Linked DNA regions of Homo sapiens: regions 1, 2 and 3 are each linked to region 4. Evidence: promoter capture Hi-C in human tissues and cell types (Jung and others, 2019). All regions are on one chromosome and are shown on one strand. Each heading gives the region's core, a stretch centred on a gene start or on the middle of the fragment in contact. The rest is flanking DNA. Distances are from core to core; before and after follow the strand shown.

The links. The method cuts DNA at HindIII sites, captures the fragments that hold promoters and counts their contacts. A contact is called where the count stands out against the background at its distance.
Region 1: a contact is called between a fragment that was not itself captured here and the fragment with the promoter of POFUT2 in region 4, in 2 of the 25 tissues and cell types used here (dorsolateral prefrontal cortex and mesendoderm cells).
Region 2: a contact is called between a fragment that was not itself captured here and the fragment with the promoter of POFUT2 in region 4, in 3 of the 25 tissues and cell types used here (dorsolateral prefrontal cortex, liver and spleen).
Region 3: a contact is called between a fragment that was not itself captured here and the fragment with the promoter of POFUT2 in region 4, in 3 of the 25 tissues and cell types used here (H1 embryonic stem cells, dorsolateral prefrontal cortex and mesendoderm cells).

The regions. Positions count from the first base shown.
Region 1 is chr21:45,084,744-45,089,791 of GRCh38, forward strand. All of the region lies in intron 1 of ADARB1 (adenosine deaminase RNA specific B1), which reads left to right. Among named protein-coding and RNA genes, the nearest start is that of ADARB1, 13 kb to the left of the region's middle. The HindIII fragment of the contact is 5,819 bases long and covers 1-4,711 here.
Region 2 is chr21:45,063,726-45,068,500 of GRCh38, forward strand. The region is part of intron 2 of LOC105372836 (a long non-coding RNA gene); the gene reads right to left. Among named protein-coding and RNA genes, the nearest start is that of ADARB1, 8.5 kb to the right of the region's middle. RefSeq lists an enhancer at 1,043-1,876. The HindIII fragment of the contact is 3,437 bases long and covers 1,808-4,775 here.
Region 3 is chr21:45,522,539-45,527,111 of GRCh38, forward strand. SLC19A1 (solute carrier family 19 member 1) reads right to left here. Exons shown (of 6, transcript NM_194255.4): 5 at 3,279-3,420. Among named protein-coding and RNA genes, the nearest start is that of SLC19A1, 18 kb to the right of the region's middle. The HindIII fragment of the contact is 5,401 bases long and covers 1-4,573 here.
Region 4 is chr21:45,285,246-45,289,828 of GRCh38, forward strand. POFUT2 (protein O-fucosyltransferase 2) reads right to left here and starts at 2,650. Exons shown (of 9, transcript NM_133635.6): 1 at 2,496-2,650; 2 at 433-683. The coding sequence starts at 2,626. LINC00205 (long intergenic non-protein coding RNA 205) reads left to right here and starts at 2,807. Exons shown (of 3, transcript NR_026943.1): 1 at 2,807-2,999; 2 at 4,106-4,193. RefSeq lists a silencer at 2,577-3,106 and an enhancer at 3,261-3,991. The HindIII fragment of the contact is 23,447 bases long and covers 1-4,583 here.

The DNA of each region.
Region 1 (5,048 bases), core at 552-3,051, 200 kb before region 4:
GGAAAGTTGCATTTTATTCCTGTGTGTTTACTTATGGCAGTGCACATAAGCCCAGTTTTGTTTCTTTTTCTTTGATTAGTAACAGTTGGGCACAAGGTGTCCAACCCACCCAGTGTTAAGTCACTTAGAGTGAGTTGATTTCCTTGAAAAAAGGAATCTTTTCAAGAATGTAAAGTGGCTTCTCGTAGTCTTCGTGAGGCTCTGGAGTCAGACACAATACTGGGTTACCCTGGGACCATGTGCAGTGAGCCCGGGCTTCTGGAGTCAGACACAGTACCTGGTTACCCTGGGATCATGTGCAGTGAGCCTGGGCTGCCGGATGCCGCTGGTGGGCCCTCTGCCAGCTGCTGCATCCCCAAGCCCTCTCTTGTGTCATTGTTTTCCCTTTTCAGGAATAGTTTCCACTAGGGACCTGCTCCCTCAAATTTCTATCATTTGAGGTGAGGTTTCGTGTTGGTTCATCTGACTGGCCGAGTGCACCCTGGCTGTGAGAACAGGAAATAGAATTCTGGCTTTTGTCTTAGGGATATCCCCAGGTAGAGAGAGGAGATTCAAAAGATGCTGGGGAGCTACAGACGTGACCTCTGACCTCTACATGAAGAATGGTGGAAAACACTTACTACTTAGTGTTAATCTACACATTTCACTTGGTTTAGACCTAAGCATAAATAGTGTGAAGTCGATTTAAACAGAGGTTACAGTTTCCAGAAACTTCAGCGCCGTGGCTGCAGTTAAACAGCAATGATTGGACTCTTTACGTCTACTCCATTCTCGATATGAATGAAAGTAGTCACATCAAATGCATATTTATTAGTCTTGGTCATTTTGAATTTGAGTCCTTTACATACTATGTATGTATGTACCCAGGAGCAGAGCAGGGTTAAAAGTGACATCTTCTAACTTCTACTCTGGAATTTTTTCCCTCTGCACTTTTTGTTGTCACGTAGTAGATGTTTTCACCCACATGCAGGTGAATGAGTGACATATTTATCTTGTTACATAGTGAAGCTTTCAATTCTTTAATTTTATCCCTCTAATGAAACTGTGAGGAATTGATTCTGTTGACACAGAAAAGGCTGGTGTCACATGAACCTAAAGGACGTCATTGAGCATGTGCCTCTCACGCAGAACTGACATAGAGCCTCCCGTGCAGCTCACCTTGAATTCTCCATGCACGAATCAGCCATAGGCACGTGTTATGTGTGGCACAGGCAAGAAGTGCCTGATAGATTTTAGTTCTGTTTATTGCTGGAAGCCCTTGCTGTAGGAAAAGGAAGGTTTTTTCCTTTCCTGGACAATGATTTTGAGCTACGGTGTAGAATGGAAAAGGCAGGCTTTGATTTGCCAGACACTGCTTGCTATGTGTGAAGCCGGGATAGGGCGGTGCTGTTGGACAGAAGACCTGCCCTGTGTGCCTTTTCACACTGCATTGAGAATTTGTCTAGATGATTTCCTGGGCTTATTGATTGTTGAAGGAAACAATGCAAATTGCAAGTTATGATCAAATAATGCTTTGAGTCTTCACCTTTTTAGAATGCTCTGGGAAAATACGGGGAGAAAATAAACCATAGGAAAGGCATTTTGAGGCGGTTTTGTTTTGTTTTAAACAGCTGCCATGAAATGCACCCTCTCTAAGAGGACAATTCAGTGATTTTCTGAATGTCTGAGTTGTGCAGACATCACCACTGTCTAGTTCTTGAACACTCCTGTCACCTCAAATGTTCCCTGTGCTTGTCTGCAGTTGATTCGCGCACCCAGCCCAGCCTCAGGCAACCGCTCAGGCAGCCTGCCTGCTGTTTCCACATGTGCCTTGCAGATATTTCATGGGAAGCAGCTCATGTCCTGTGTCATCGTTTGCATCAGGCTTTCACTTAACATGTTTTTCGGGTTCATCCGTGTGTTGTAGAACATATCAGTAATTTGTTCCTTTTAGTCGTATTGGCGTAGCGTGTTCGTTTATTCCACTCCAGCGATGGACTTTGGGTTGTTTCTGCATTCTGGCTATTATGAATCACGTGACTTTGAACATTAGCAAGCATGTCTGCGTGTGGATGTGTATTTTCATTTGTCATAGGTAGATTCCTAGGAGTTCGTAGGAGCTTCGAAATGGAGTTTAAGACAGAAGCCTTTGTTTGATACTGATAATGCTAGCAAGGGCCATTTATTTGGCTTGCTCTTGAAGTCTGTCTCTGTGATGTGCATTGTGCTTCTTGAATTGTATGAGCCTACTATAGGATGAAATATGGTTATAATGTCGAGCAGAAGCTATTAGCATTTCTTAAGCTGACCACCTGTGTTGTGCACACTATTAGGTCCTCAGCAGATGAGTTCTTACCGGGTGTTTGATGTTTTCCCCCCACTTATCAGAAGAGGAAGTCGGTGAAGTACGGTTGGGCATATTAAAACCACATTCAGCCTACAACACCACAGAAACACTTACCCTTTGACCCAGCAATTCTGCTTCTAGGAATCCTTCCAGAAGATAGACCTCCAACAATGTGAAAATACATTCGGAATAACCTAAATATCCATATGCAGGAGAGGGTTGAGTAAACTCTAGTACAGCCACACAACCACATCCACTGTTGAGGATGACCTCTGTGAATTGGTTTGAGGTGGTTTCCAGGGCACGTGGATGTGAATGAGGCAAGTACCAAAGAACATCTAAATGCTGCCCTTGATGTGAGAAGAAGGGGATGCAGGAAGACACACGCTCCCTGCACACTTGTGCAGAGGAGATACAGGAGGGCAGAGCCAGAAACAAAAGAGATGGTGACTGCAGAGGGCCAGGGGACGGAGGAGGAGTGGGTGCCAGGTCATAGGTGGGGTGCAGAGGGCGAGGGGGCAGGGAAGTGGAGTGGGTGCCAGGTCATAGGTGGGGTGCAGTGCTGCTCTCAGTACACCTTTTAGTGTGGCCCAGCTCTTGAAACCACAGCAATACTTCATATACTCCAAAGTAAAATAGATGGTTAATATCAGCCAGGATGTGGGGGACCCAAAATGAAATATAAGCGGAAAACACACATCTCACTGTAGTACAAAGCGGCAGGGCCACAGCAAAGGGGGTGGAAAGGAAAGTGTTAACCTTATTTGGGAAAATGATAATGTTGACTGGATTCTGTGAGGCTGAAGAGAACTGTACAAAATAGTAGTAAATTTTTTTCTCAGTGTTAATGGTGAGCAATGTGAAACGACTTTATGTGTATGTGGGGATTGAACAAATAAGCAGAATCGTAGTGGATAATGAGAGCCAGGTTTCTCACTGTCCCAGGAAGAAGTTACAAATAGCAAAAGGAAGATGGCAGAGGGAGGCCGTGCTGTTGGATTGGGATAGGTGTCAGTGTGACTCTGTGGTCTTTAATAGATGCATGTACAGCACAGGAGTAAACATAGGTGTACGCGTTACATGCATGGGTTAGTGATACACCTACATATGCATCTCCTAGCCTTGTCCGTTGGGAAGACCTAGAAGCAATGACCTCCAGCAACAGGGAGCACACCTAAATATCAGTTGCTGATAAAAATAAGCAGGGCTCCTTGCAGAAGATGAGTCTGGAACCTCTGATGATGCTGGAAATAAGGAAGTGGCCAAAATGGATGGGGTGTGTCAGAGGGCACATAAGCAACCTGGAGGAGCCCCATGGCCAAAGCGGGTCAATTTGAGCAAGGAAATGAGTAATGATAGTATAGGTGTATAATCTATAAAACAAAGTCAGTATCACTACTGATACTTCTTATATTGATATAAGAAGAAATTGAAAAAATAAGGAGAAGGGACATCTCTTCCTGACAGAAACATTCCAATTAATTGGTGTAGGAGCAGTGAGAAAATAGAAAATCGCCTTCAGGCGGCACTATGGAAATAGTTACTTCAGGTGAGTTCCGCGGGAGGATGCTGATTAGTGGGCCAGAGTTTGGAGAGAAACAGGATATTTGCCTAGTCTCGAAGTATCTCTTCCTCAAGTTATTTATTTATTAAAAAGGGAAAAATAGTAACTTTAGAATGGAGGAAGCCAGCAGACACCACGTCACCTGGGCGATCAAGATCAGCATCATCTGATGAGACAAGTTGCATCATATGCCGCCCCACACCACATGGCATGTGCTCTGTCAGGGACTCCTGCCACAAATGCACAATCACAGTCTAGTCATGGAGAAATGTCAGACGCTCCAGTAGAGGGACGTCCTGCAAAATACCTCACCTCATCAGTGTTCCTCAGAAGTGTCCAGGTCATGAACACTGGAAACACCGAGGATTGGTCTAAGCTTAGAGACCTGATGACTAACTGTGGCCTGTGATTCTGGGCAGAATCCTGGAACAGAAGCCGGTATTGGTGGAGAAACCACCGAAATTCAGATGAGGTCTGTGGTGTAGCCAATTGTATTGTGCCAGTGTTTATTTTCTGATTTCGATATATCCTTCTCCCAGCTCACAACATACAGGTCTGTGATTGATACATACTTCTCCTCATGCTCACAACTTACAAATCTATGATTTTAGAGGAAGCTGGGAGAAGGACATAGGGGAATTATCTGTACTATTTTTCAGCCTTCCCATAAGCCTAAAATTTCAACATAAAAAGTTGAAAAAGAAACCCATGGCAGAATATGATGGGAGAATGGCAGAAATGGCAGGACCAGCCCCTGTCTCTGTTTCTTCCCATGTGAAGCTGTTTACCTGGTTTATCTTGGTCTTTGGATTTGGTCGATTTTTTTTTTCTAAAAAGAAATTTTAAATATAGTCAAATTTATCAGTTTTTTTCCTTTATGGCTTTTGGGTTTTGAATCCTAAGAATACTTTCCCTACTACAATACTCATATTTTTCTTTAATTTCTTCTAATAGTTTTATATTTTGTTTTTCACATTTAGCATATTGATCTATATGAAATTTGTTTTTGTACAGTTTGAAGTTGGGATATTTTTTCAATTGGCTAATCATTTGCCTTTGTCATTGAGTAGTCTGCCCTTTGCCCAGTTATCAGAAATATCACCTTTATCACTACTAAATGTTTTCTTTCAATGATATTTCAAATTGCTTATTATTCTT
Region 2 (4,775 bases), core at 2,276-4,775, 220 kb before region 4:
CAAGACAATGTGGTGTCTGTGGGAAGCAAAACAAATAGATCAATGGAACAGAATAAAGAGTCAAGAAATAGACCCACTAAGCCCTGGTGCAGTGGCTCACACCTGTAATCCCAATACCTTGGGAGGCCAAGGTGGGAAGATCACTTAAACCCAGGAGTTTGACACCAGCCTGGGCAACATAGGGAGACCCTGTCTCTACAAAAAGTAAAAATGAAAAAATTAGCTGGGTGTGGTGTTGCACACCTGTGGTCTCAAGCTACTGCAGAGGCTGGGGTGGGAGGATTGCTTGAGTGGGGAGGTGGAGTCCCCAGTGAGCCATGGTTGTGCCACTGCACTCCAGCCTGGGCAACGGAGTGAAACCCCGTCACAAAATACCGAAAGAATTAGTTGTTGTAACGGAGGCTAATATGCTGGTGGGAGTGAGCTCAGGTGAGCGCGCCCCTTCCATAGTCACCCCAGTGTCCACCGCACACATCCTTCAGGCAGTGGAAGGGGTGGAAGTGCCCCTCCCCTTCCTCCTACCCTCCCACCCTTCTTCTTCCTCTCCCTCCCCCTCCTTCTGTTGTGTTTTACAGATACATGAGGGGCGGGGCCTGGGGCCTAAGCACTGGAATCCTCATGGAGAGGCTTCCCTGGAGTCCTTAGCTGCAGAGTGGTGGGCATATCTGATGCCCTTATTCAGATCTACCCACTGCGATATGTGTGAAGTGCTGAAGCTTTAATAAATAAAACGCAGGAGGGCTTGAGAAAGGCTCTGGGTATGGTGCACACAACCAGCTCATGCTCAGGGGATCGGGAAGGGGGTTCACCAAGCGCCCATGGAGACTGCATGCACTTATTTAATGAGCAACAAAGACATTACCAGACAGTCAAGGAAAAACATGTGTTTTTCCACTTTGGGAAATAGTCAAACTTTCATATTCCACCAAAAATAGAAGTGGAATTCTAGAAAACAAAAATAGGTGGGCTTATACTTGTATGCCATTCAAGCAAACCCGCATAGACTATGACTGCTCTCATCTCTCTGGAATGTGTGCTGTGTTCCCAGGAGGTCCGGGAAGGAGCCAGGACAAGAGGGAGCCTGGGACCTGTTCCTGGGCCTGAACTCCTGCGGCCACCAGGGTCCCTCCTGGTTCTCGTGGGGCCATCTGGGGTTGCACCCCTCCAGATGTGCTCTCCCTCCCCTCCGTCCCCTGAGGCGTTGATGACCGGCGGGAGACCCTTGCCCCTGAAAAGAGACTGGCCGAAGAACTGATGAATAGCTCCATCACCAATCTCCACGGTGGCCCGCACAGGACGGCAGAGACTTTTCTCCTCGAAGACCCTAGGCTGCTGGCAAACACTGAGCACTGCACCGCACGGTGGAGGGTGCTGGGGAGGGGCGAGCCTCTGAACCTCAGTGCAGGCGGGAACAGTGCCTCACATTTCTGTGGCTGATGGAATATTTAATGCTTAGTTTATACTTTCTTTTTACACGGTTTGCTTGAGGCATATTTTGTTGACTCATGACTTTACAGATAACTTCTCTGATGAGACTGAAGCCCAAGGAAGGGACCAATGTCCAGTAAGTGACCTGGTCTTACATCAACCAGAGCTGCTTCCATGCACTCAATAGAAAATGAGGCCCGAAGCCTCTCATCTGCTAGGCAGGGCCAGGCCACAGCAGCCCCCCATGGCCAGGACGCAGTTGGGGAGGGGGGCCAGGTCACAGCAGTCAGCAATGCCCCGTACCCAGGCCACAGACTCCCAACCACCCAGGCCACAGGAGACCCCCACTACCCCCAAGTCAAGCCACAAAAGTACCCCCCCCCCCATGCCTTAGGCCTCAGCAGGGCCAGGTGGAGCCCTGAGGTCTGGGCTTCTTCACCATTTTCCTTGTTTCTTCCACTCCTTGTCCTTGAAGCAAGGGGGTGGGCAAGCAGAGAGGGGGATTTGCTAGAAGGATCCTGGGGTATCTCCCGGGCTTTTTCCAAGTTGGGCTTTTTCCAGAAATGCAAGGTTGGTATAACATTTAAACTTTAATCAACTTAATTCATCATATTAATGTAATGAAGCAGAAAAATCATACTATCATCTCAATAAATGCAGAAGAAAGAATGTGATAAAACTCAGCATGCATTCAGGAAAAGAAACTCTTAGCAAAGTGGAGATAGAAGTGAGCTTCCTTGATCTCATCGGGGGCATCTATATTTAAAAATCCTACCACAGATCTCACACTTATTAGTGAAATATTGAAAGCGTCCCCCCTGAGGTCAGGAAAAAAATAAGGATGCTCACCACTAACACTTCTTTTCAGCAGCAGCTGGTGAGGTAAGCCAAGAAGAAAGCAATAAAGGATAAAATGATCAGAAAGGAAAAAATGAAAAAGTCATTATTCACAAACAAAATGATACGTATATAAGAAACCCAATAGAATCTACAGATAACTATTGAAATTATTAAGTGAATCTGGAAAGACTGCTGGTACAAGGTCAATACACAAAGATCAACTGCATTCTAAATAAACCAGAAACCAGTGGTCAGAAAATAAAAATAGGGAACATTTTAAATGATCATCCAATGCACCAAATGTCTGCGAATAAATCTAATGGACTATGTATGTAATATCTACACAGAAGACTAGAAGATAATGAGAGCAACTGGAGAATATTTAAATCAATGTAGGGCTAAACGTGAACTGGAGCACTCAATATTGTGAGAATATCCGTTCTCGCCAAATTGATCTATAGCTTCAATGAAATTCTAATAAAAATTCTAGCAGAATATTTTGAGGAAATTTATAAGCCAATTCAAAGATTTAAATGGAAATGCAAAATACCAAGTATAACCAAGAAAATTTTGAAAAACAGAAAAACTGCAAGGTGATTCTACGGTGTCAAAAGAAGACTCATGAGAAAGCTTCAGTAATTAGGACAGGAAACAGCAGTTCAAGGCCAGTCCTCAGCACCTAACAAAATAGTTCAGAAAAAAGCAACAACCCATGCCTATATGGATGCTGAATTCACAACAAAGCTACTGCAGCAGAGCAGCAGGGAGAAGGGAAATCATGTCAGTAAATGGTGCTAGGTCAACTGGGCACCAAACACAGACAACAGTTATGGACTGACTCTGAACCCCTACCTCACATTGTACAGAAAAACAATTCCTGGTGAATTGTCCTCTAAATTTGAAAATTGAAACAATAAACCTTCCAGAAGATAACAGAAGCATTCCTTCATGACCATGGAGTAGTTGAGTTTTCTAAACAGGAAACAAAAAAACCCTAACCGTAGAAAAAAACGGTAGATAAATTGGATCACATTGAAATTAAGAACTCCTGTATAACAAAAGACTCCACTGTGATTATGGAAATGCAAGACACAGGGTGAGAGAAGGTATTTGCAACACATATAGCTTGCCAAGAGTTTGGGTCTAGAATATATAAATAACTTCTACAAATAAATAATAAAGAAAACTTGTGGCTTCTTCACCAGAAAGGATGTGCATGTGGAAAACAAGAACATGTAAAGATGCTCAACCTCACTGGTCATTAGTGAACTACAGATTAAAGCCACTGTGAGGAACTACCACCACCCTCCAGGGTGGACAAAGTGTCAACACCAGCTGTTGATGTGGACAAGAAGCAGCCAGAAAGCTCCTCGCCTGCTGGTAGGAGTATAAAATGGCTCAACACGTTGGAAAATCAGTGTCCCCTCTGGAGTGGACCTATGTGTCTCCTGTGACCTGGTACACAACCCAACAGAAACATACACACGTGCGCTGAGAGGTGTAAGAGAAGGTTCACAGAGGCACAGGTTGATGGATCTCATGAACACAGCGTCAAGTGGAAGAATCAAGACACGAAAGAATACATTCTGTGTGATGTCACTTATGTGAAGCAAAAACAGGCATAACCAATCTGCGGAGGTAGGAGTCAGGGTAGAGCTTATCTTTAAGGCCCAGAGGCAGCTGTGGCTATGGAGGGGCACGCCGGACACTCCGAGTTGGTCACGTTCCGCTGCTCGCCCTGGTGGAGGTTTCACAGCTGTGTCCACTTTGGGCTAATGTGTTGAGATGTACATTTATGATATGGATACTTTTTGGTGTATGTATTATATCTCAAAAAAGTTTGAAAATACATGATGATGGCCACTTTTCACACCACCGTTCATGGCTGCTGTATCCCTGAGTAGCTTGTATAGGTGACAGTCAGCCCGAGTCCCTGAGATTCCAGTTTAAAACTATCAACTGCAAGATCTTGAATATATGGTAGTTGAAAGTTTCCTAGAGAGAAGGCTTTAAATAACCACATGAGCCATCTAATTTGTCACTAACCCAACTGTACTTAGGCTCAGCCTCCAGCCTCCATCCCCTCCAGAACAGCTCCTGGAGATTCAGCAGAGCGCGGCCTGCCCGCGCCCTCCCTCCTCCCCACTCTTGCCTGGCTTCAGTTGCTAATTACCTTTTAGCTTCTCAGGAAAGACTGCTAACATAATAATTAAGACATAACTCGGCAAAATAGAAAAAAAAATCTCCTTTTCCTGGCTCTAGTCCATTATTTTAGAGTAGTATGTTACCAGGAGCCATACTGTTTTTGCATCTGATTTATTTTAAAAATCTAGTATCATTCAAAAGAAGTTGGTGAAGCTGCTAATTTTGTTTGCTTTATATATTTATACTCATCCCACAAAGAATTTGAGGTGTTTGGTGTGTCTCTATATTCGCTTGCTCTTTTAATAATTTTTAAAAATGAGTTTCTCCTTAAGGATCATGTACTTTTTTTTAAATCTATTTTT
Region 3 (4,573 bases), core at 1,249-3,748, 240 kb after region 4:
TAAAAGAATGTCCATAGCAGCTTTATTGGTAATACCTCACACTGGAAACAAGTCTTTCAACGGTGAATAAATAAAGTGTGCTGTACCTACACCCTGGAACAGCACTCAGCAGCAAGAAGGAATCAGCCACAGCCACAGTAACAACATGGATGAATGTTCAGAGAACAGTGTTGAGTGAAAAGAGCCAATCCCTAAACGATACACAATGCATAGCCGTGTTTATACAACACTCCTGAAATGACAAACTCATACAAGCGGAGAAGAGGGTAGTGGCTGCCAGGGGTTAAAGAGGACGTGAGGCTGGGAGTAGGGTGGGCCTTGGCTATAAAGAGCAGCATGAGGGATCCCTGTGGGGATAGAATGTTCTGGATCCTGACTGTCGCCATGCTGGTTGTGATGTGCTACAGAACTGTAAGACGTGACCACTGTGAAAACTGGGTACGGGGTACATGGATCTCCCTGTATTATTTATTAAACAGCATGTGAATATAAGATTACCCAAATATAAAGCTTAATTTAAAAAGCAGGCAAACCCAGGCAAGCTCTAGCCCTGTCTGTCCCCCCATGCTCCATCACGGCTCCCTCCCGTCTCCAGACTCTACCCCCGACCAAGCCTGAACTCCTGGCCCAGCTGTTCTCCCCATGCTGGAGGAAAGAGAGTGGACACTCGGCACCCAGTAACAGGCACGGGGGCAAGATGAGCCCGCACCACCTCCTCTAGACCCAACAGGATGTCCAGCCATGAGCAAAATGCCCCACTAGTTAACTTTTTAACCTAGAAATCAAACCAGCCAGAGAAAAGTCCATGTGTTTTTTTTCTATGTGACAAGAGGCAGCCAGGAACCACAGGCCAGAACCTGCCTCCACCTCCCCAGAGCTGTCTCCCCCACAGCCTCCACGGCCACACCAGGACCAGGACCAGCTAAGGAAGGGAAAGGGCTTCCTCGTGACCAGCTCTCTGGGGAAGAACTGCTCCACCCCCTGCACCAAGCCCCCATGGGCCCTTAGAAGCCCACCGTGAGGGGTCCCCTCCACAGGGCAGCTACAGGGGAGCACACGCACAGAGTCCCTAAAGAGCCCTCAGGCATCTGCCCCTCCAGCTGCCAAGGGCTGAACAAGAGGCAGTCACAGAGGGATGGAGGTGGGGCGGCAACGGTAGTCAGGGGCAGTCAGCACCCAGAGGCAGGTCAGAAGCCAGTTCCAGCCTGGCTGGGGCCACACAGGGCCCTGAGGGTCTCCCTGGGACGGGCACTCCCTGCCCATACATGCTGGCAGCCACTGCTGTCTGGGGACAGAGGTAACTCGGGGCTCCAAGAATGGGGAGGACCTCCTCCCGGGTGCTGGAGCCCCTCCAAAGCCAGCTGGACTGCTGCCAGCACCCCGCCCTGGGGCCATGCATTCAACAGAAGCCTTCTGGGCCCCCTTTCTGCAGACCTGAGACCAGCCCGGCCACCAGGAGGCTGTGTCCACCCAGGCCGGGCCTGGACACATTCACCCGTGGGCCTTGGAGACTCACCTGTCCTGAGCGTTCACCCCTGGGCTTCGGAGGCTCACCCGCCCTGAGCGTTCACCCCTGGGCCTCGGAGACTCACCTGCCCTAAGCGTTCACCCCTGGGCCTTGGAGGCTCATCACCCTGAGTGTTCACGCCTGGGCCTTGGAGGCTCACCTGCCCTGAGTGTTCACACCTGGGCCTCGGAGGCTCACCCGCCCTGAGTGTTCACACCTGGGCCTCAGAGGCTCACCCACCCTGAGCGTTCACCCCTGGGCCTTGGAGGCTCACCTGTCCTGAGCGTTCACCCCCGGGCCTCGGAGACTCACCTGCCCTGAACGTTCACCCCTGGGCTTCGGAGGCTCACCCGCCCTGAGTGTTCACCCCTGGGCCTCGGAGACTCACCTGCCCTAAGCGTTCACCCCTGGGCCTTGGAGGCTCATCACCCTGAGTGTTCACGCCTGGGCCTTGGAGGCTCACCTGCCCTGAGTGTTCACACCTGGGCCTCGGAGGCTCACCCGCCCTGAGTGTTCACACCTGGGCCTCAGAGGCTCACCCACCCTGAGCGTTCACCCCTGGGCCTTGGAGGCTCACCTGTCCTGAGCGTTCACCCCCGGGCCTCGGAGACTCACCTGCCCTGAACGTTCACCCCTGGGCTTCGGAGGCTCACCCGCCCTGAGTGTTCACCCCTGGGCCTCGGAGACTCACCTGCCCTAAGCGTTCACCCCTGGGCCTTGGAGGCTCATCACCCTGAGTGTTCACGCCTGGGCCTTGGAGGCTCACCTGCCCTGAGTGTTCACACCTGGGCCTCGGAGGCTCACCCACCCTAAGCGTTCACCCCTGGGCCTTGGAGACTCACCCGCCCTGAGTGTTCACACCTGGGTCGGGGGTGTTGTACCCAGAGGGCTCTGTGGCACAGGGCCACGTGGCCTGCCAGCGTGGACAGGCCCTAATGACACTCTTGGGCTGAAGAATGCATTTCGATGAGTGAGCAACAGCCATCCTCACCTAACAGGCATTTGTGAGCCGAAGGGGATGCCTGCTATTGCCCGGGCCTTACCCTGAGCTCTGGAGTCACTGAAGCTGAACAGACTCCGCACCCTCAGAGGATCAGGACTAACCCTGACAGTCCTCCTGCCCAGTGAGACCTGGGCCCCAGGTGGACAAAGCCCTTGTCCCACCCGCCAAGGGCATCTGTCTAGCTGCAGGCTGGGGCAGTCCTGAGGAGCCTGGAAGGACCTCTCACACCACGCCCACCATGGCTGATTCCAGCTCACTCGGAGACCCGGCCTTGGCTGGGACCCTCAGGAGTTAAATGTGTGTTTTCCAGCTCTTCTCAGAAGCAGCAGAGGCCCGCGAGAGGTGGGAAAGGGGAGGGCACCCGCAGAGGCCTGCGCACTGACACTGCTGAGTGGCTCTGCTCAGCTCTCCTTCCTGAAGAGGACAAAGGTCACGTGGCCTCCAGCCAGGGCTCAAGGACACCAAGTTCCGGCAGCCACAGGCAGAGAGCGGAGACAAGGACAGCTCCGCCGTGGCGAGCAGAGGCTCAGCTGCTCCCACTGAGGCCCAGGGCCTGACGGAGGCTCCCGCCCACAACAACTGAGCCCCGCTAGGGTCTCTCTCACTTCCTGCTCTCGCTGGCCTGGTGTGTCCCACTGGAAGCCCCAGGCCCGCACCCTGTGCCCCCAGCCCACAGTGGGCTCCACATCAGGCGGGCACCAGGAGGCCTCAACAATGTCCCCACAAGTAGCTTCCATCCCCGAGGACGCAGGCCTGAAATGGGCTCACCTGCTTGCGGACCGGGAGGCCCAGGCCCCGCACGTCCGAGACAATGAAAGTGATGATGGTCTTGACGATGGTGGCAAAGAACGTGTTGACCCCGAAGACCAGGGCACAGAGCTCTTTAGACAGAGAAGATGCAATCTGAAAGCTGAACGGGAAGAGCGGGCAGATCAGGCGCTGCTGGGAGAATAAGCAGCAGCCACAGGGAAAAGCCTGCAGCCCGGCTCCCACCAGCCCATGACCCGCCCGGCAGCCACGGGGTCCCAGGGCACGCACAAGCCCCCCACCAGGCCCCCATCTCTCCCACACATGCCCGCCCCTGCCAGGCAGGAGCCAGCACCCAGGCCACCCTCGAGGGGCCATTCTGGGAGCTGCCGTGTCCCCCTGGCTCAGTACAGAGTGAGGGTCCCTTATCCAAAATGCCTGGGGCCAGTAGTTTTGGATTTGGGAATATTCACATGTCCATAATGAGATGTCTTGAGGATGGAACCCAAGTCTAAACACGAAATGCATTTATGCTCATATGCACTGTACACACACAGCCAGAAGGTGATTTTATATAATACCTGACAAACATTTGCAAGCCAAAGGGGTTGCCTGCTACTGCCCAGGGCCTCACCCTGAGTTCTGGAGTAATTTTGTGCATGAAGAAACTTTTGACCGTGTTCTGAGACTCGTCAAACAAGGTCAGGTACAGGATTTTCCACCGGGTTGTCTTTCCGGTGCTCAAAAACTGTCAGATTTTGGAGTATTTCAAATTCTGGATTTTTTGTTATTTTTTTTTAGATGGAGTCTCGCTCTGTTGCCCAGGCGTGCAATGGCACAATCTCAGCTCACTGCAACCTCTGCCTCCTGGGTTCAAGCAATTCTCCTGTCTCAGCCTTTCGAGTAGCTGGGATTACAGGCACGCGCCATCATGCCCAGCTAATTTTTGTATTTTTAGTAGAGACAGAGTTTCACCATGTTGGCCAGGCTGGTCTCGAGCTCCTGGCCTCAGGTGATCCACCCACCTCAGCCTCCCAAAGTGCTGGGATCACAGGTGTGAGCCACTGCGCCCAGCTGAATTCTGGCTGTTTTGATTAGGGATGCTGAACCTATACAATGGGTGTCACAAAACACAAACTCGAGAAGATACCTGGAAGGGCTCCCATGAGCTCTGGGACAGACCAGGTCACGGGCGTCTCAAAACATTCAGAAAATCATCATCAAGAGAACCTCTGGGCACAGACAGAAAAGTCTAGAATGAAAGTCTTTCACGGTTAAATGTTTGATAAATTAGAAGAGCAGTGAAACCACAGAGT
Region 4 (4,583 bases), core at 1,400-3,899:
ACACAAAATTAAACGAGACAGACCTTTATCCCTGGCGCTGCACTGAGACACCACGAAGCATACTCCACACGCAGTGCGTCTTCCTGAACGTAAAACAGCCTTTCGCACAGGGAGCCGAGTCCTGTCACTATAACACCCAGGGGTGGCCGCTTTCTTAGGGTGTAAGGGCGGCTCTAACTGAGGGGGCACAAAGCTCATCCACTTCAGGTCCATTTCCGAGAAACATTTTGGGAAGCTCACTGCAGCGTGGGAAAGGGACTGTGCTCCTGAACGGAGGAGGTGCTGCCACAGGCCTCAGGCAGCAGCACTGGGCACTGGAGGATGCTGGTGAGGCTGGATGCAATCGTAAGCCCAACCTGATGTCTACCTTAGAAATGACTGCCTGGCCCCAGTTAAGCAACCACGGCCTCCCAGCGTGCCGCTCGGCCTCACCTGCGATGAACTGCTCATACTCGATGACGGGGATGTTTTTATTGAGACTTGGAAGATCAAAAAACTCAGACCAGGGAATCCGGACCTGGTGGATGTCAGGACTCTGCCAGTGATAGAGGCGGCCCCATGGAGGCAGGACAAGCACCCACTCCTCCGTCTTCAGCAGAGTCTTCAGGAGAGAGGCGATTCGGATATAGACATCCCTGCGCAGGTTGAAGCCTTCCGGGGGGTTGACGTCATACAGAAGATACCTGAGCAGGGAGAAGGAGGACCACAGGTCTCAAATGCTGAGGTTTCTGCACGGAAAACCCGACTGCTCACAAGTCTCAGCGCGTGGCCCGACTCTAGGCACTTAACAATGGTTCCTAGTTTGTGAAGGCAGTGAGTGGCCTGTTTCTCTATGACCAGTTACTTACGGAGCCTGTAAGCAGAAGCAGCAGACATGCTAACATCGTTTTAACAATTAGCAATAGTTCAACACTAAGGCAGAGGAATCCCAGTGACTGGAACCCAAGAATCAGTACCCACATGGTTCTCAAACTGTTTGGTTTAAAGACCCCTTTACACTGGAAACAATGACTGACGGCTGGTTATGTGCACTATGTCTATTGATACGTCCTATGTTAGACGTTAAAGCTACAAGTATTTAATTCAGCTAAAAATAAGAAGCCATTACATGTTAACAAAAACCACATATTTAAATAAAAAATAAGTGTATTTTAAAAAATGAATTAGAAGAACTGTGATGATGTTCTTAATTTTTGCAAATCTCTTTTGGGTTTGGTGACAGCTGGATTCCCATACCCGTTTCTGCATTCAATCTGTTGTGACATCACAGATCAAGTGGTTTCTAGGAAAACTCCACAGTGCATTCATGAGAAGTGAAAAAGGCGTATAATACTCTGGTACTACTATTAAAACGGCTACAAAAGCTCAGAGATCCAGGACACACTTTAAGATCACTGCCCTAGAGGAAGGACACAAAGCGCCCCAAGGCACAGACAAGTCCCCAAGGCACAGACAAGTCCCCAAGGGCTACAGAAACCCTGTCCCTGGCGCTCTCCTTTCCCTGCTCTGCGCTGGTTTTCCATACTCCCATCGTCGCGAGTGAAGCTGCGTGCAGCGCCCAGGCCTGCGAACGCCACGAGGGGCCGTGCACACCTCTGCGTCCAGGCCCCTCCCGGGGTCCGCTTGGAGATCCCACAGCCACAGGGCGGCCGCGAAGCTCGTCTTGGCCCTGAGAATTCACTGCGGAGCGCCCGCCCGGCACTGACTCCCGGCTCCGCACACCCAGGCCTGGACCCGTGTCACTTGCAGGGGCCTCCGGAGCCAGCCCACGCTCAGCCTGAGCAACCCGGCCCCCTTCCTGGGCTCCCGAGGCTGCGCCCCGGGCCTCGCAGACGACCCCGCCTGCAGACCCGGGCCGCAGTGACGCAGCCTCGACTACAGCCAACCCGCTGGCCCGACCCTGCCCCCAGCCCCCGCCCCATCCCATCCCCCAGACTCCAGCCCGGCCCCGGCCCCTGCCCCTGCCCCTGCCCCTGTCCCGTCCCCGTCCCATCCTTCTTGGCCCCGGCTCCCGCCCCGCCCCCATCCCATCCCTCGGGCCCCCGTTCCTGCCCCCATCCCATCCCACCCCTCCTGGCCCTAGCCCCTGCCCCGCCCCCATCCCATCCCATCACCCTGGCCCCTGCCCCGCCCCCATCCCATCCCATCGCCCTGATCCCTGCCCCGCCCCCATCCCATCCCTCCTGGCCCCTGCCCCCTGCCCCTATACCATCACCCTGGCCCCTTACTCCGCCACATTCCTTGCCCCAGAACCCTGACCCCATCCCATTCCCCTGACCCCTGCCCCCTGACCCCGCTCCATCCCATCCCCCTGGCCCCTGCCCCATAACTCCGCTCCATTCCATCTCCCTGGCCCCGGACCACCCTCCATCCCGTGGGCCTGCCCCTGACCCCATCCCATCTCCCTGGCCCCTGACCCCGCCCCGCCCCCATCCCATCCTCTGACCCTGCCCGGTCCTGGAACCCCAGCGTTGGCACCGTGGACGCGCGTTTACCGTCTGCGGGAAGCCGCCCCCGACAGAATATCGGCCGCCGATTGTCCGGGCCAGAACTCCTGGCCGGAGGCAGAAGCCGGAGGCCAGGACACTGCCCCCAGCAGCAGGAAGACGAAGCTGAGTGTCGCCATGGCCCCGGGCGGCCACGCACTTCCGGCGGCCGCGCCCCGCCCCGGAACCACGCCCCGCCCCCGTGAAATGCGTTCCCAGTAGCCACGGCAACGCCCAGCTCCGCCCTCCCCGCGCATGCGTTATGCGCCATCACCGGCAAGCAGGGGCGGGAGGGGGAACTGCGCGTGCGCAGAGTCTCCGCCCTCCTGACCGCAGCGGCTAGAGGTTCCATTGCAGACCCGGAGGCCGTGGCTGTGGTTCGCGGCGGTGCTGTCGCGGGCGCCCTGGCGCAGCCCACGCAGGGGCTCCTGAGGGTCCGCGAGGCCGGGAGGTCCGGGGGTCGGGAGGTCCCGGGGTCGGGAAGTCGGTGGACCCTGCAGGCCAGTGGGGAGGGTACGCGAGACTGGGGGCCGGGAGGGCTGACGGCTGGTGGCGCGGGGCGGGTCCGTGGGGAGGAGGCCCGGGGCTGGTAGGGGCGGGAGGGCTGGACGGCGGGGGCGGGGCGGAGGAGGGGGTCCGTAGACGGGGTCGGCGCCGGGTGCTCTCGCCCCTCTGGAGCTGGGGTCGGGGCGGGAGCCGCGCATGAGAGCCTGGGTTTCTAGTCGGGGGGCGCCGTCGAGCTCCACACCTGCGGCCTCCTGGGTGCCCCCAACCCTGGAGCCCCGGCGAGGGGGCACCCGGGCTGAGGCCTGGCCCTCCAAGGAGCCCTGGAGGGACTGTGCTGCTAGGGCGCGGGGCTCGATGGGGTGATCTGGAGACCTGGGGGGATCCGGGGCTGCCGCCCCTGCGCTGCCAACCTCCCACCCCGCCCCTTCTGCGAGGCGTTATTAAAGGTCTGGTTTCGGGAGCCAGGTGCGTGCCCGCCGCCGCCGCTCCCCGCAGCCTCCAGGCAGCTCCCGCTGTTCCCCGAGGGCACCAGCACTGGCCGACCGACCTGGCTTGGGGCGCGGCGCTGGCAAACCCGGCCTTCTGAGGGGACGCCACGCTGACTCTAGTGCAGGCAGCCCCCAAAACGGTATAATTGGACGAATTTCTTGAAGGATGCCAGTTACCAAAAAAGAAAATACTAATGCTTATTATCTGTTAAATTTGAGATCAATTTGTTATCAAATTTTCTCACACAGAAAATTCCAGGCCCAGAGGGCCAAGCTGGTGAATCCTACTTAGAGAAGAAATAATAGGAATCCAGCCACTCAGACGATGGACGAGGAGGGGCACTTCCCTGCTCGATGTATGGGCCAGCATTGCCTTGATAGCAAAGTCAGACATCACCAGACAGTAGAACCACAGACCAATGTCTTTCATGAACCAAGACACAGCATTTAAAAAAATTAGCAAATGGAATTTATATCTGCCTATTGTTTACAAAAAAAGCCAAACTTTGTAAAATACTTGAAGAGATTTATTCTGAGCCAAATATGACCCATGACACAGCCTCAGGACGTCCTGAGAACTTGGCCCAAGGCGGTTGTTTTACTGCTTGGTTTTATTCATTTCAGGGAGACATAAGACATCAGTCAGTACATGTGAGGTGTGCATTGGATTGATCCAGAAAGTCAGGACGACTCCAAGTGGAAAGGCCTCCAGGTAATAGGTGGATTCAAAGATGTTTCTGATTGGCAGTTGGTTGAAAGAAGTTACTATCTGAAGGCTTGGAATCAATAGAAAGGAGTGTCTGGGTTAAGAGAAGGGGCTGTGGAGACCGAGGTCCTTATTATGTGGATGAAATCTCATAGGTGTCCGCCCTCAGAGGCAATACATGGCAAATGTTTCCTATTCAGACCTTCAAAAGGCACTAGACTCTCAGCCAGTCTCCTCAGGATCAGAAAAAGAGCTGGAAAGGGAAGGGGAGTCTACAGAATATGAATTTCCCCACAAGACACCGCTTTGCGGGGCCATTTCAAAATTTGTCAAAGAGATATATTTTGGGGTAAAATACATTGATACTTTGAGGGCCTGTTGTCACGTGATGCTATA